Regions from separate parts of the Homo sapiens genome. Here regions 2, 3, 4 and 5 are each linked to region 1. Evidence: promoter capture Hi-C in human tissues and cell types (Jung and others, 2019). All regions are on one chromosome and are shown on one strand. Each heading gives the region's core, a stretch centred on a gene start or on the middle of the fragment in contact. The rest is flanking DNA. Distances are from core to core; before and after follow the strand shown.

Region 1 (2,700 bases), core at 99-2,598:
TCCTCCAAAACTGCAGTGGTCAAGGCGTGACCCAGGAGCTCGGAGTTTCCAGCTCAGGGCTGGGGGCTGGAGCAGGCCCCGGGGCACCAGCCGCAAGGTCACTGCGGAGCCGGACCCCGGGGGCAAACGGCCGGCGCGTGGTGGAGGGGCAACGCTGGGCACCCGACCACTCTCCACACCTGCTCAGCTCTGCGCGGAGCCCGGGACACGTGGGAGCCCAGTCCCGGGCTCCCAGCCTGCTGCAGGGACTCGCAACCTCGCCGGGGCGTACACCCTTCGCCCCCGGCCCGGCAACCAGGAAGAGGCGGCTCGCCCGGGCGCAGAGCAGCCGGCTCCGGGTAACTCTTTCATCCTCCGACCTCGGCAGCAGCAGGGAGGGAGTTTCGTTCTCCTCAAACCAGCCCCTCACCCCCGGTTGCTTCCCACACCTCTCCGTTTCCCTGCTACCTCGCAGACAGACAGACAAGGGACACAAAGAAAAAAAGAAGAAGAAAAAAAAAAAAAAAAAAACTACCGCCCCTCCTGGTCCCATCCTCCAGCCCGGAGCCGGTAGGAAGAAGAGGGCGAAGCACACCTTCCCTTCTCCTCCCCATCCCGACGCGGTGACCCGGGTAGATCTGGGCAGCCAGGAGCTCTGGGCAGCCAGGAGCCCCGAAGAGGCCGAAGGCGGAGAGGTAGGGTTGGAAGAGGCAGAAATCAGGCGGAGCGAGCTAGAGCGCGAGAGAGAAGAAAATATCCAACAAAACCACGCTAACGCGCCCCCTACCTGGGTGCAACATACTTTGGAAATAGAAGATGACCAGGATAAAGGATCCCAAGCAAGTGGCCAGCACCATCCGGCAGATTCTGTTCATCCTCATCACTTCCAGCAGCGCTGGCTTCATGGCTTTGTCCTGGCTGCGGGGACCGGGGTGTCCGGGAAGCGCGCCCGGGGCGCAGGAGCAGGGACCCCGCCGCGCGGACCGGAGCCCGGGAGGCGCGGGGCAGAGCTGAGCAAGGCTCAGAGGGAGGATCGGAGTCGCTTCGCGGCCGCTCTCGGAGCCCCCAGCCCGGGCAGGGGTGTGGAAGGTGCCGGAGTTGGTCTGGAAGTGCTGAGATGCGTGGACCCGCTGGCTGCGCGCTCCTGCTCCTCCTCCTCGCCGCTCCGCCGCCTCCTCCGATCCCGCCGGCGGCCGCCGCTGCCTGGTCGCGGGCCGGGCGGCTGGGGTGCGAGCGGTGATGGTGGTGCCGCCGCCGCTGCCGCTGCGCTGGCCGCTGTGGCTGTCCGACGGGCCCTCTCCCTTCTCTCCAAAGGCTACTTCATTGCGCTCCAACGATCTATATATTCCGGGGCTGGGTTTTACCAAATGCAACTCGCGGCCCCCGGCGAGGGGAGGGCGCCTGCGGAGAGCCGGGAGGAGGGAGGGACCCTAGCGCCGGGGCGGAGCGTCGCGCTCCCCCCGCCCCTACCCGGGATATGGTCGCGTCCAGCTGTTGCCCGGGGAGTGCGGTGTGCGCGCCGCGCTCCCGCAGGGTCCCAAAAGCCCTCAGTCCCCGGCCGGGCTCGGCCGCCGTCTGGAGGTTGTGTCAGCGTTTCCATGACAAAACCCGGAGGAAAAAAAGACGAAGAAAATCGCCTCGGTGCTGCCACCCACCCCCGCCAGCGTTTGGAGAGGGAAGTGGCAAGCAGCGGGCTGGGTCTCGGAGGGAAGAATTAAGGGTTAGGGGGTTTCTGGTGGCTGGCAATTATTTAAAATCCCTGGGCGACGTAGCGGGGAAGTTGCCCCAAACCCCCAGGGAGCGAGTGCCCATTTTCCGACGCTCAGAACTGGGCGGTTTCGTTTTTCTTTCAAAGGACAGCCCAGCTTGGGAGTCGGGGTTAAAGAGGGCTGACTTAAAGTCAGGGTTAAGGAAACTGCACGACCCTCGGGTCAGGCGACAGCTGAGCTTTCCCGGGGACTTATACAGACAGAATCTCTGACACCCACCATCACCACCATTCCTCAAGGCAAAAGGGATCTGTGGGTTGCAAAACTCTGCTACCCCAAAGGGTAGAGCATCCTCCAAATTATTCAAAATTAACAGCAGTCTTAGCTGGGAGGGGGTGAGAAAATGCCCCTAGGAAGCCACCTCAACCAAGTCCAGAAAACTGCTGGAAAAGCCAAGCCAGCCATAGCACTGGCAGGTACATGGAAAGATGGTGCTGCTTTCTTGTATTGTGTAGAATGACTTCCAGTTTCCAATTCCATGCATTTAGGCTGTTTCACAATCAATAAAGTGGACACAGCCAATAGTGTAGGGATCACTCGTATGTCAGGGAAAAAAAAAATGTTAGTTAGACTAACCTTTGTGCCTTATCAAGTCATTACTAATTCAATTAAAAATGAAATAAGATACTGTGTCTTTCAATGCCTCTCACAAAATAGGCATTTGATAAATTCTTATTGAATCTGAATGTAATGGGCCTTATCCTCCCCTCGATAGACAGAGACACAACTTGCAGTTAGACACATGCAACAAAAACCACCTGGGCAACCTCAGTTCCCTTCCCCCAGAGTTCTCCTCCAGCAGTTGCATGGTGGGGAAAGTAACAAACTCAGCAGCCTTGCCTTTGATTACAGAAGACAATCAAAGCACAATATTTATGTAGCCGGTGTGCGCTGTATTAATTTGGACTTACCTGTGAATAAGTTGCTTGCTCAAGGAAGCCAGGCTGAACAA
Region 2 (2,846 bases), core at 303-2,802, 910 kb before region 1:
AGGACAAAAACCAAGTTTGCTTGGAAGGAGCAAAGATGATGAATCCTGGGCAAGTTCTTTTTCAGACCATATGCCCCTACCTGTATTCTCTGTGCCAACAGTTTTCCTGGCAGAATCTGTGTTATTGGGAATATGCTACAGTGTGTTAAATCCATGAGGTATGGCCAAAACCATTCAAACTAAAGCCAGCTGCAATACCAAACATACCTCCTCTTGTCATCTTCTGTTACGGATTCTTCTGTTCTAAAAGGTCAGAAACATTTGCTATGAGACACTTGGTTACATAGTCGGGGACTTCATTTTTGGTTATGAGAAAAAGGGACTACTGAGTTGAAGTCAATTTTATTTCAAATGTTTCCATCAGACTTAAGTAGAGGAGCAAAACTATCCATCAAGTGTTTCTGTGACAATATTCTGCCTTCACCTCAATCATTCATACGTTAAAACTTGGTAATTTTCTACAAACCAAAATGTGTGAATCCAGCAAATGCCAAAATGCACAACTGCCAAATGAAATGGAAAACTGAGGGCAGCTGAAATTGGAAAGAAGCCTGAGTTATCGTCTTGTGTGTACCACCCACTCCCTGTGTGACAGACAGGCTGTGGGCGAGCTGCCAGCCTGTGTCTCATTTGTAAAATAAGCTGGTTGACCAGATGACCCCTCAGGTCTCTTCCAGTCCTAATACATGGTTTTAGATCTCTTATGACACTTCAGTGGCACAACTATAGGTACTGAAAGACTTCTTCAGTGCAAAAAGAGTTAATGCCTATTTGATTTTTTTTTATCTAAAAACATGAGCCATTTCATACATGATCTACTGCAAAGAGAGGGAGAAATATTTAAAAGGATACATTTAGAGGGGATCACTACTTTAAAATGCACAGCTTCTCTCCTTGCATTAAGAGGAATCCAAGCTGGACATGGTGGCTCATGCCTGTAATACCAGCACTTTGGGAGGCCGAGGCGGGCGGATCACCTGAGGTCAGGAGTTCGAGACCAGCTTGGCCAACATGCTGAAACCCCATCTCTACTAAAAATACAAAAATTAGCCAGGCATGGTGACGCCTGTAGTCCCAGCTACTCAAGAGGCTGAGGCACAGGAATCCTTGAACCCGGGAGGTGGAGGTTGCAGTGAGCAGAGATCACGCCATTACACTCCAGCTTGGGCAACAGAGGGATACTTGGTCTCAAAAAAAAAAAAAAAAAAAAAAGGAGTCCATATTCTACCAGAATTCCTTGGCGTATTTCTAAGAGAATCAGGACACTTTCCTTGAAGCACTAGTTGGCATACATAAGTTGCTTTTCTGAAAGAAAAAAAAAATAATTCAACAAGATTCCAATGTATCTGGCTGAATTCAACTTGTAACACTAAGGGGCTTCAGTTGAGCAAAAAGCAGACTGCAAACATCTAAATGTCATTGACTCTTCTGATTCAGAGATTGTCTAACTATGATTTTACCCACTTAAAAGCTGTGAATATTTCAAATGTGACTGTATATGTGCATGAGATTTTTGCTTTATTGCAACAGCCAGTAAGTCCAAGTCTATAAAGAAGGAAAGTGTAGATTTAATAATTATCTGGTGAACGCTGGCCATGAACAGCTAATACTGGAAGAGAGTGCAAAATCCATCTTGAGACCTAATTCATCCAAACTGAGCATATAACCTAAATTCACTAGATGGTTATCAGCTTCATTTACCTCTTAACGCTGGATTGTTTTTTTAGTTCAAGTGTCAAAGTCATACTAATGGTGTTATGCTTATTGATGTGGTATAAGAGAGAGTTGTTCACTACTTTTAATTAAAATGGATTTATAATCCTTTAGCATAGATAATGGAGAAATGATGAGGACAAACTCGTTCAAGGTAAGTTCTGATAAGAACTGTTTACTTTGGTCCTGAGTGATTAACTTTCTCAAGAAATCACTTGAATCTGTATATAACTGGTAGCTTATGACACACATTTCCGGCCATGACTATTCTTTTCACATCCATTTACATATCCGTTTATTTTAATTCTTTCCCCTTTTGCTTAACTGTGCTTAAGGATATATTCAAGGTTTTAAAATATATTTTCACTTTCCCAAATGTAAGAAAATAGTCATTTACTTTCTCCTGTTAAATTACTCAATATCTTAAAACTCAATCTGTGTTCTCCATTATAAAATTAATCAACAACCTTACATGTATAACTGGCAGGAAATGATAATGTAGTTGCCATATTTATTGGATAATAAATTAAGCTTCAGATATAATGCCAAATCTTAAAAAAAATACTACCTATAAAGACTTATAAGATGTCCACTCTTTTTTTTTTTTTTAATTAAGACAGAGTCTTGCTCTGTCACCAGCCTGGAGTGCAGTGGCACAATCTCGGCTCCCTGCAACCTCTGACTCCCTGGTTCAAGTGATTCTCCTGCCTCAGCCTCCCGAGTAGCTGGGATTCCAGGCCCGTGCCACCATGCTCAGCTAATTTTTGTATTTTTAGTAGAGACGAGGTTTCAACATGTTGGCCAGGATGGTCTTGATCTCCTGACCTCGTGATCCTCCCACCTCGGCCTCCCAAAGTGCTGGGATTACAGGCTGAGCCACCCCGCCCGGCCAGATATCCACTCTTTTAAACCTTCCAGTAAGTTGTAAAGCCTGTCTTTGCATACTCACTCCCATGTATAAGACTGTCACTTCATCCATTCCTTCCACAAACAGTTATTCTACAACACTAGGACTAGAGACCAGGACTCCGTGGGTATAATGGTGTCATTCATGAGTCTCTCCTGTGTGTCAGGCACAGTGCAGGACACTGCACGTGCATCCATGCTATTCCTCACAACAGCTCTGAGGGCCT
Region 3 (2,874 bases), core at 85-2,584, 600 kb before region 1:
GGCTTAACTAAATATTTCAATACTACATTATGATGATTATTATTACAGATAGGGCCTCACTCTGTCGCCTAGGCTGGAGTGCAGTGGTGTGATCACAGCTCACTTGCACTAGCAGCCTTGCACTCCTGGGATAGCCATCCTTTCATCTCATCCTCCCTACTAGTTGGGATTACAGGCATGAGTCATCACACCTGGTACATCACACACAGTACTGTATTATTATTATTATTATTATTATTATTATTATTATTATTATTATTATTATTTTGAGACAGAGTCTCGCTCTGTCGCCAGGCTGGAGTGCAGTGGCGCAATCTTGGCTCACTGCAACCTCCGTCTCCCAGGTTCAAGCGATTCTCCTGCCTCAGCTTCCCAAGTAGCTGGGATTATAAGCAAATGCCACCACGCCCAGCTAATTTTTGTATTTTTAGGAGAGACGGGGTTTCACCATGTTGGCCAGGGTGGTCTCGATCTCCTGACCTCGTGATCCACCCGCCTCGGCCTCCCAAAGTGTTGGGATTACAGGTGTGAGCCACCGCACCCGGCCAGTACTGTATTATTAATACTTTTTTTTTTGCTAGCAAGATACTCCTGCAGGAATTACTCATTTTCTGTTTGAGTGTCTGGCTTACCATAATCATCTGATATTATTATCTTGATTACAAAGGTATCATCTCTTTTAGAGAATAAATGATTGAACCACAACCATGGTGGACTTTCTACACTGTACCTCGTACACCACTGCTATTCAAGAAATGTCAGATAACAGCTGTAATTTGACAAACTAACAGTGGAAATCAAAGGATTGGAAAGGACTTCAAAAGTTATACTGACCTACTGCATATGGTTCTAGCTAGTACCTATGTTAACTACGTAATACAAACAAATGTCCATCTTATACTTGTAATTTAGAGAAAATAGTCTACAATATGACATTCATCTCTCATAATCTTTACAGTTAGGAAAGTGTCTTTGTTTCTTATTCCCTGAGTATATATGAAAGGAAAGGAGTTGACTTTATATGATCCTTGCTACCTTGCTTATAAGTAATTAAAATATTTTTGCCTTGATTGCTTTTATTTTTAGTCATGGATAAAGTTTTAAAAAACTGCCACTGTCCTTCAAGATATATTTTTAATTTCTTGCCCCTAGTCTTATCAATTTCTCTGATGAGTATCACAGAAGATCTCATAGGATATAAATAGGCATGTGATGTAAGTCTTACCTCAAAACAACTTGACAAGTGCAAATAACACAATCTTCCTAACCCCTTTTAAAAATCTAAGTAACGCGAAGCTGGTTTTTACTTTAAGGCTGGTTGAAGAGATCAGACAGAAATGTGGTGGGCTTCAGTTGCAGAATGAAGATGTCTATATGGCCACCAAGTTTGAAGGCTTTATCCAAAAGGTCGTGAGGAAACTGAGAGGAGAAGATCAAGAGGTGGAGCTGGTTGTAGATTATGTAAGCTTTTCCTTGATGTTGCAACCCTAAATCAGTGAGATCCATACACTATAAAAGACTGCTGTGCCTGTTGCCCATTTGTTTTTATATTTATGACCTTTAAAAAACAACAGCTTTACTGAGATCTAATTCAGATGGCATAAAATTCCCCTTTAAAATGTGCATTTTGGGTAGTTTTTAATATATTCACAGGGTTGTGCAATTATTATGCCATCCAATTTTGGAACATTTTCATCATCCCAAAAAGAAGCCCTGTACCCATTGGCAGTCATTCTTTACTCTTCCAGGACTACCTCATACAAAAAATGTTCCAAAATTGGATAGCATGATAGTTCCTAGAAAATGCTAACCTCTTTTCTGTCTATGGATTTGCCTATTTTAGAGATTTCATATAAATAGAATCATACAACATGTGGCTTTTTGTTTCTGGCTTCTTTCTCTTAGCATAATGTGTCCAACGTTCATCCATGTTGTATCATCATTTCATCCCTTTTTTTGGCCAAGTAATATTCTATTGTATAAGTATACCACAGTTTGTTTACCCATTCATCAGTTGATGTACATTTGGGTTGTTTCTACCTTTTGGCTATTATGAATAATGCTATGAAAATTCATATATAAGTTTTTGCATGAACATATGTTTTCAAGTCTCTTGGGTATGTACCTAAGAGTGGAATTGATGAGTCATATGGTAACTCTATGTTTAACTTTTTTGAGTAACTGCCAAACTGTTTTCCGAAGTGGCTACACCATTATGTAATCCCACCAATGTATGAGGGTTTCAACTTCTCCATATCCTCGCCAATATTTGCTCTCATCTGTCTTTTCTCTTTTAGTTGTCCTAGTGGGTGTAAAGTGGGATCTCATTGTGGTTTTCATTTGTATTCCCTAATGACTACTGATGTTGAGCATCTTCTCATATACTTATTGGGCATTTGTATTTCTTCTTTGGAGAAATGTCTGTTCTTTCAAATCCTTAGCTCATTTTAAAACTGGCTTGTCTTTTTATTGCTGAGTCTTAAGCGTCCTTCGTATATTTTCGATACTAGATCCTTATCAGATGTAAGATTTGCAAATATTTTCTCTCATTCTGTAGATTTGCTGAAAACTTTGAGTGTCCTTTGACACACAACAGGTTTTAATTTTGATGAAGTCTAATTTATCTATGTTCTTTTGCCACTTGTGCTTTCTTGTGTCTTGTCTGACACCTTTTTATTCCTCAATTTCTCCCTCACTGCTTTCTTTTATGTTAAATATGTCTAGTATGCCTTTTTAATCCCTTATTTTTAATTTAACTGTATTTTTAAGCTATTTTCTTAGTGGTTGCCTTGAGGATTATAATTAACATTTTTGCTTAAAATGATCTAGTTCAGATGAACACCAACTTAATAGTATAGGAAAGCTTTGCTGTAA
Region 4 (2,804 bases), core at 94-2,593, 580 kb before region 1:
CCTCCTGCCTCAGCCTCCCAAGTAGCTGACACTACAGTCACACACCACCATACCTACCTAATTTTCTTATTTTTTATAGAGATGAGGTCTTGCCATGTTGCTCAGGCTGGTCTCACACTTCCGGCCTTAAAGGATCCCTTCTACCTTGGTCTCCCAGACAGTTGTGAGTCACTGTGCCTGGCCTTGAATAAGTTTCTTAATATTACTGAGGCTCAATATGTTTTCCATGCCAGGTGGTAACTTATAGCTTAAAAAGTGTGTGTGTGTGTGTGTGTGTGTGTGTGTGTGTGTGTGTGTGTTTGTGTGTGTGTGTGTGTGAGAGAGAGAGAGAGAGAGATGTTAACTAAATGCTCATTTCTCATTTGTTTTCCTCTAGCTGTGCTGTTAGCAACTTGAAGAAAGTTTCCCTTGAGCTTGGTGGCAAGTCTCCACTTATAATATTTAATGACTGTGAACTTGACAAGGCTGTGCGAATGGTAAGAGAGGGTCAAATTTAAGTAAATAGGTGCCTGGGCCAGGTGAGGTGGCTCACGCCTGTAATCCTAGCACTTTGGGAGGCCAAGACGGGTGGATCACTTGAGATCAGGAGTTCAAGACGAGCCTGACCAACATGGTGAAACCCCGTCTCTAGTAAAAATGCAAAAACATTAGCCGTGCGTGGTGGTGGGCACCTGTAGTCCCAGCTACCCGGGAGGCTGAGGCAGGAGAATCTCTTGAACCCAGGAGGCGGAGGTTGCAGTGAGCTGAGATCACGCCACTGCACTCCAGCCTGGGCGACAGAGTGAGACTCCGTCTCAAAAAAAAAAAAGAAAAAAAAATAGGTGCTTGCTTCTAAAACACATTTCACCTCCTTTTTTATCAGAGATCTTAAATGAGATTTGGGTTTTGTCTAGTCATAAATTAAAACCATTGTTTTTATGCTTAGATTTGGGAATACTCAGAGCACTTAGTTTTTAAAAATAATGTCTTTATAATTCCTCTACTAAGGTGTTTTTAAAACAGGATATGAGTCATAGCAGGCATGTAAAAAAGTTCAAAAGATATTCTATTAGGGCTTCTAGCTTCTCCCTCCTTTCCCTACAACATCTCATCCCATCAACCTGAACAGTCCTACTTTTACCTGTTTTGCACATTGAGCTTCTGGTAAGCGTTTTAGACACAACAAAGGGTTTCATATTTAACAAGTAATTAGCAACATCAATTTCCTGGTTTTAACAATGTACTATGGTTTTATAAGATGTTATCATGGGGGAAGTTAGGTAAAGGGCACAAAGGAACTCTCACATTATTTTTGCAACACCTTGTGAGCCTTAAACTATTTCAAAGTATAAAGGCTTATTTTAAATAAAATGTAAAGGTTAAAAAAAATTGGCCTAGTTCTCATTCTTCACATCTGAGATATAGGCATAAAATGAGTCAATGCTCGGCAGGGGTTGTGCTAAGCTTTCTTGTAATTGTGGGGGAAACTTATGGTCTTCTCAGTTCTGTACAACTGTCCAGCCTATGCACTAAGCAGACTCTGTTCACCATTGGCCCTAAATGTAATTATAATGAACACTCACAGCCAAACTTCATCATGTAAGCATCCCAAAGAGAATGGAGTGGTCTGGGAGTGAAGAAGAACCAAGTACCCCTGCGGCCAGGGCCTTTGAATGGACCATCTGGAGGTTTCAGTGACAGACAATGGCTGGGGGTACTCAAACTGATATCAGGGGTCAGGACTCCCCTGGATGTCTGGGTTAGGAATATATAACCTTAAAGAGTCTGTTTTAACCATTTAAGAACCCCAAACCCAAGACAGTCAACATATTTTTGTAATGTTTAAAGATAAAATGTATGCACAGGAAAAGCATGGTATTTCAAAGCATTCATTATACTTTGTTTTCGAGATGGGATCTCACTATGTTGCCCAGGCAGGTCTTAAACTCCTGGGCTAAAGTGATCCTCCTGCCTTGGCCTCCTAAATGGGTGGAATAACAGGTGTGAGCCACTGCACCCAGCCACATCCATTTTATATATATATATATATATATATATATATATATATATATATATATATATATAAAATATATATATACATATATAAATATACGTATATATGTGTGTGTATATACACACACACATATATATGGATATATATAATATATACACATATATAAATATACGTATATATATAATATATATACACATATATAAATATACGTATATATATAATATATATACACATATATAAATATACGTATATATAATATATATACACATATATAAATATACGTATATATATAATATATACACATATATAAATATACGTGTATATATTATATACACATATATAAATATACGTGTATATATTATATACACATATATAAATATACGTGTATATATTATATACACATATATAAATATACGTGTATATATTATATACACATATATAAATATACGTATATATATAATATATATACACATATATAAATATACGTATATATAATATATACACATATATAAATATACGTATATATATAATATATATACACATATATAAATATACGTATATATATAATATATATACACATATATAAATATACGTATATATATAATATATATACACATATAAATATACGTATATATATAATATATATACACATATAAATATATGTATATATATAATATATATACACATATAAATATACGTATATATATGTGTGTGTGTATACACACACACACACACACACACACACATATATATATATATAGACACACTATATATAGTCCAGGGAGGTTTCCTGCAGGTGAATTAGAAACTG
Region 5 (2,744 bases), core at 26-2,525, 660 kb before region 1:
TGCATTGCTATATCACCAGCACCAATAACAGTTTCTAGCATATACTAGGCTTACAAAACATATTTGTTGAATGTTTAAAAACGGAATTTTTATGCAGCTGTGAGATCTAAATATGATGTAAAGTATTTTTTAAAATGAAAATAAATAACGCATTTTATTTTTAAATAGTTATAGTTTTACATGTCCTATTAAACTTCTAGAAGTTTAAAAAAAGCAGAGAAAATGTAGGACAAACAGAAAGAACAAAGTAAAAAGGCAGAAACAAGCCCAGATATACATACAGACTATATAAGATAGACCTAGAAACAGAATAAATTAAGCGATTAAAAAACAGGTATTGTCAGACTACATTAAAAAAGCAAAATTTAGATATATGTGGTTTTAAATAAACCCAACTAAAACATGACACTGAAAGGCTGCCAGAATGGAAAAAGATAAATCAAGAAAATGTTAACTAAAACGGAGCCAGGGCAGCATTATTATTATACTGTCAGACAAAACAGACTTGATTAGCATCAGTACAGTAAATTGCTATGCATGTAAAATACATATACATAATCATATACACATAATCATGATCATAGCTAAGGAAGGTCACAAATGATGATAAAAGATTCAATTTACCAGGAATGATTAACAATTCTAAACTTGTACACACTGAATAAAATACCCTCAAAATGAAAAATGCAAAGTTTCCACATTTACTGGGACCTTACCAACTACATTTTTTAGACACCTTGCTGGAAAAGAAGCCAGCAGCAGATAGGCAGTGCCACCTCAGCATAGGCATCAGTTTCATGGGGCTTCTTCTCCAAGCTCCCAGATCCTGGCAATCCCAATCTTTATCCTTTTTGTTCTCTGGATGTAAAGGAGGTATCTGTTTCCTTTGGACTACACCTCAGTATTTTCTTTGTCCTCCAACTCCTGGGTAACCAATTCTCTATATTGAATCCCCTCTCTTCTTATTTAAATACATTTTATTGTGTATATTTAAGGTATACAACATGTTATGGGATACATACCGATAATAAAAAGGTTACTATAGTCAAGTGCAAATCCATCATCTCACATAGCTAACCCATTTTTTTGTAGCAAAAGCAGCTAAAATCTACTCAGCATGAATGCCATATACGGTATTTTATTACCTGTAATCTTCATGTTGTACATCAGATCTCTAGACTTACTCATCTTACATATCTGCTACTTTGTATCCTCCAAACTACATCTTTTGAAATACCTTGTATGGAGTTTTCTAGACAGGACCCTGAATAACACATATCACAATATGAACAAAATGCTCTCAATTAGATCAATTAGACCAAAAAAAGTAGTAAAGATATAAAAGATTTGAACAGTATGTTAGCATGCCTAATTTGATGAAATATATCAAATCTTGTACTCAACAACAGAAAGGAGGTGGGACTATGGGTATTTTTTCCTTAGCTTCAATTTTTGCTTTTTCACATCGTACATGCACTATTTTTATCACAGAGGAGGAAATAGAAGCCATTTTATTCTTTTGATAAGAGTAAACCAAAGGACCTACAATCATTAAAACTGGCAGTGATGAGAAGCTATCTAAACTGAAACAAGCTGTTAGAAGCATGGAGGGCTACCGCTTTAAACAACTTCATCATTGCTCATGTAATAGCTTAATTCTCTCCTATCCGTTAACAACTTTTCCTGATACAATTTATCTTTTCCAGTGGGTACAAAGTTTAAATTATTTTAAAAGGCATGGTGACAAGTTGTCCATAAAGAAATATACACAAAGAAACTTATTTTGATAGCTTTTTCCTCTAAAAATACTTGGAAATCTTTTAGGAGTTATGATCTCCTAAACTATAATCCAATGCTAATTAAGTGTCTTATCCTCAGAGTACACATCTTTAGTATTTGAAGGTTTCAGAACTTTTTACGTGTTGTGTAATTTACTCAAACTTTTTGAAGTAAAAGCTCAGTAGAAAGTAAAAATCAGTTACCTGTAAGAATGAAATAAATCTCCCCATTTGAATTTGGCAATCACCTTCCACCATGCTGGCATCTGTAGCTGTAAAAGGCAACATGAATAAGCATATTTCATTTTTTAAATTTAAACTCAATCAATACCAAAAAAGGGGGAAAAGTTTTTTTTTTTCATTAGGACATCTTTTACTCTGCATAGTATTGAAAACAGAATTTTTACACCAAAGAGAAAAATCAGACAATCATTAATCAAATAATTAGAAGTATTTGCTTCACTATTTAATGAATTCAAGGAAAATTCTCATCTACCTACAGTACTTCGTAAAGTACAAAGATATCACAAATTTGCTGCTGCTTCCTCAGCTTTTTTACCTGTTTACCAAACATACCAACAAAAAATATGAATACTTATTTTTCTCACACTATTATATAATCATAGTAGTCCTAAAATTGTCTGTTAACTTTTTGTTCATTTCAATATCAAAAAGGCATCACAATTTGGAATTTTAAACTTACCTCCTTCTCCATAAAACAAGAGACCATTGTAAAATTTAGTTTCAGCCTGTTTTTAAGAAAAAAATTAAAATAATTTTAAAGGTTGTTTTGTTTCCAAATTCCTATGCTCTCTTAGATCTGTATACTTAGTAATAAACAGAGGGCTACATCATTTGCATACAAATTCATTTAAATTCAAAATCTGTTTATAAAGCAATTCATCTTTAGAGTAACAAAAATATTACTGATACTCAAAGCTGTATCTTGATTCCTTTAGCCTTTAC

What was found. Contacts are between HindIII fragments. The study calls those that stand out against the background at their distance.
Region 2: a fragment that was not itself captured here is called in contact with the fragment with the promoter of CHST11 in region 1 in 1 of the 25 tissues and cell types used here (aorta).
Region 3: a fragment that was not itself captured here is called in contact with the fragment with the promoter of CHST11 in region 1 in 1 of the 25 tissues and cell types used here (lymphoblastoid cells).
Region 4: a fragment that was not itself captured here is called in contact with the fragment with the promoter of CHST11 in region 1 in 1 of the 25 tissues and cell types used here (bladder).
Region 5: a fragment that was not itself captured here is called in contact with the fragment with the promoter of CHST11 in region 1 in 1 of the 25 tissues and cell types used here (IMR-90 fibroblasts).

What each region holds. Positions count from the first base shown.
Region 1 is chr12:104,455,596-104,458,295 of GRCh38, reverse strand. CHST11 (carbohydrate sulfotransferase 11) reads right to left here and starts at 1,348. Exons shown (of 3, transcript NM_018413.6): 1 at 767-1,348. The coding sequence starts at 884. RefSeq lists silencers at 30-169, 760-1,039, 1,080-1,249, 1,330-1,459 and enhancers at 560-609, 1,530-1,609, 1,630-1,679. The HindIII fragment of the contact is 13,105 bases long and covers 637-2,700 here.
Region 2 is chr12:105,363,204-105,366,049 of GRCh38, reverse strand. C12orf75 (chromosome 12 open reading frame 75) reads right to left here. Exons shown (of 6, transcript NM_001145199.2): 3 at 208-243. Among named protein-coding and RNA genes, the nearest start is that of C12orf75, 34 kb to the right of the region's middle. The HindIII fragment of the contact is 8,128 bases long and covers 1-2,846 here.
Region 3 is chr12:105,056,660-105,059,533 of GRCh38, reverse strand. ALDH1L2 (aldehyde dehydrogenase 1 family member L2) reads left to right here. Exons shown (of 23, transcript NM_001034173.4): 10 at 1,314-1,461. Among named protein-coding and RNA genes, the nearest start is that of ALDH1L2, 26 kb to the left of the region's middle. The HindIII fragment of the contact is 4,090 bases long and covers 1-2,874 here.
Region 4 is chr12:105,035,775-105,038,578 of GRCh38, reverse strand. It overlaps ALDH1L2 (aldehyde dehydrogenase 1 family member L2), which reads left to right. Exons shown (of 23, transcript NM_001034173.4): 18 at 377-476. Among named protein-coding and RNA genes, the nearest start is that of ALDH1L2, 47 kb to the left of the region's middle. RefSeq lists a silencer at 1,389-1,468. The HindIII fragment of the contact is 5,954 bases long and covers 1-2,804 here.
Region 5 is chr12:105,114,967-105,117,710 of GRCh38, reverse strand. WASHC4 (WASH complex subunit 4) reads right to left here. Exons shown (of 33, transcript NM_015275.3): 5 at 2,482-2,527; 6 at 1,983-2,050. Among named protein-coding and RNA genes, the nearest start is that of WASHC4, 8.6 kb to the right of the region's middle. The HindIII fragment of the contact is 4,793 bases long and covers 1-2,744 here.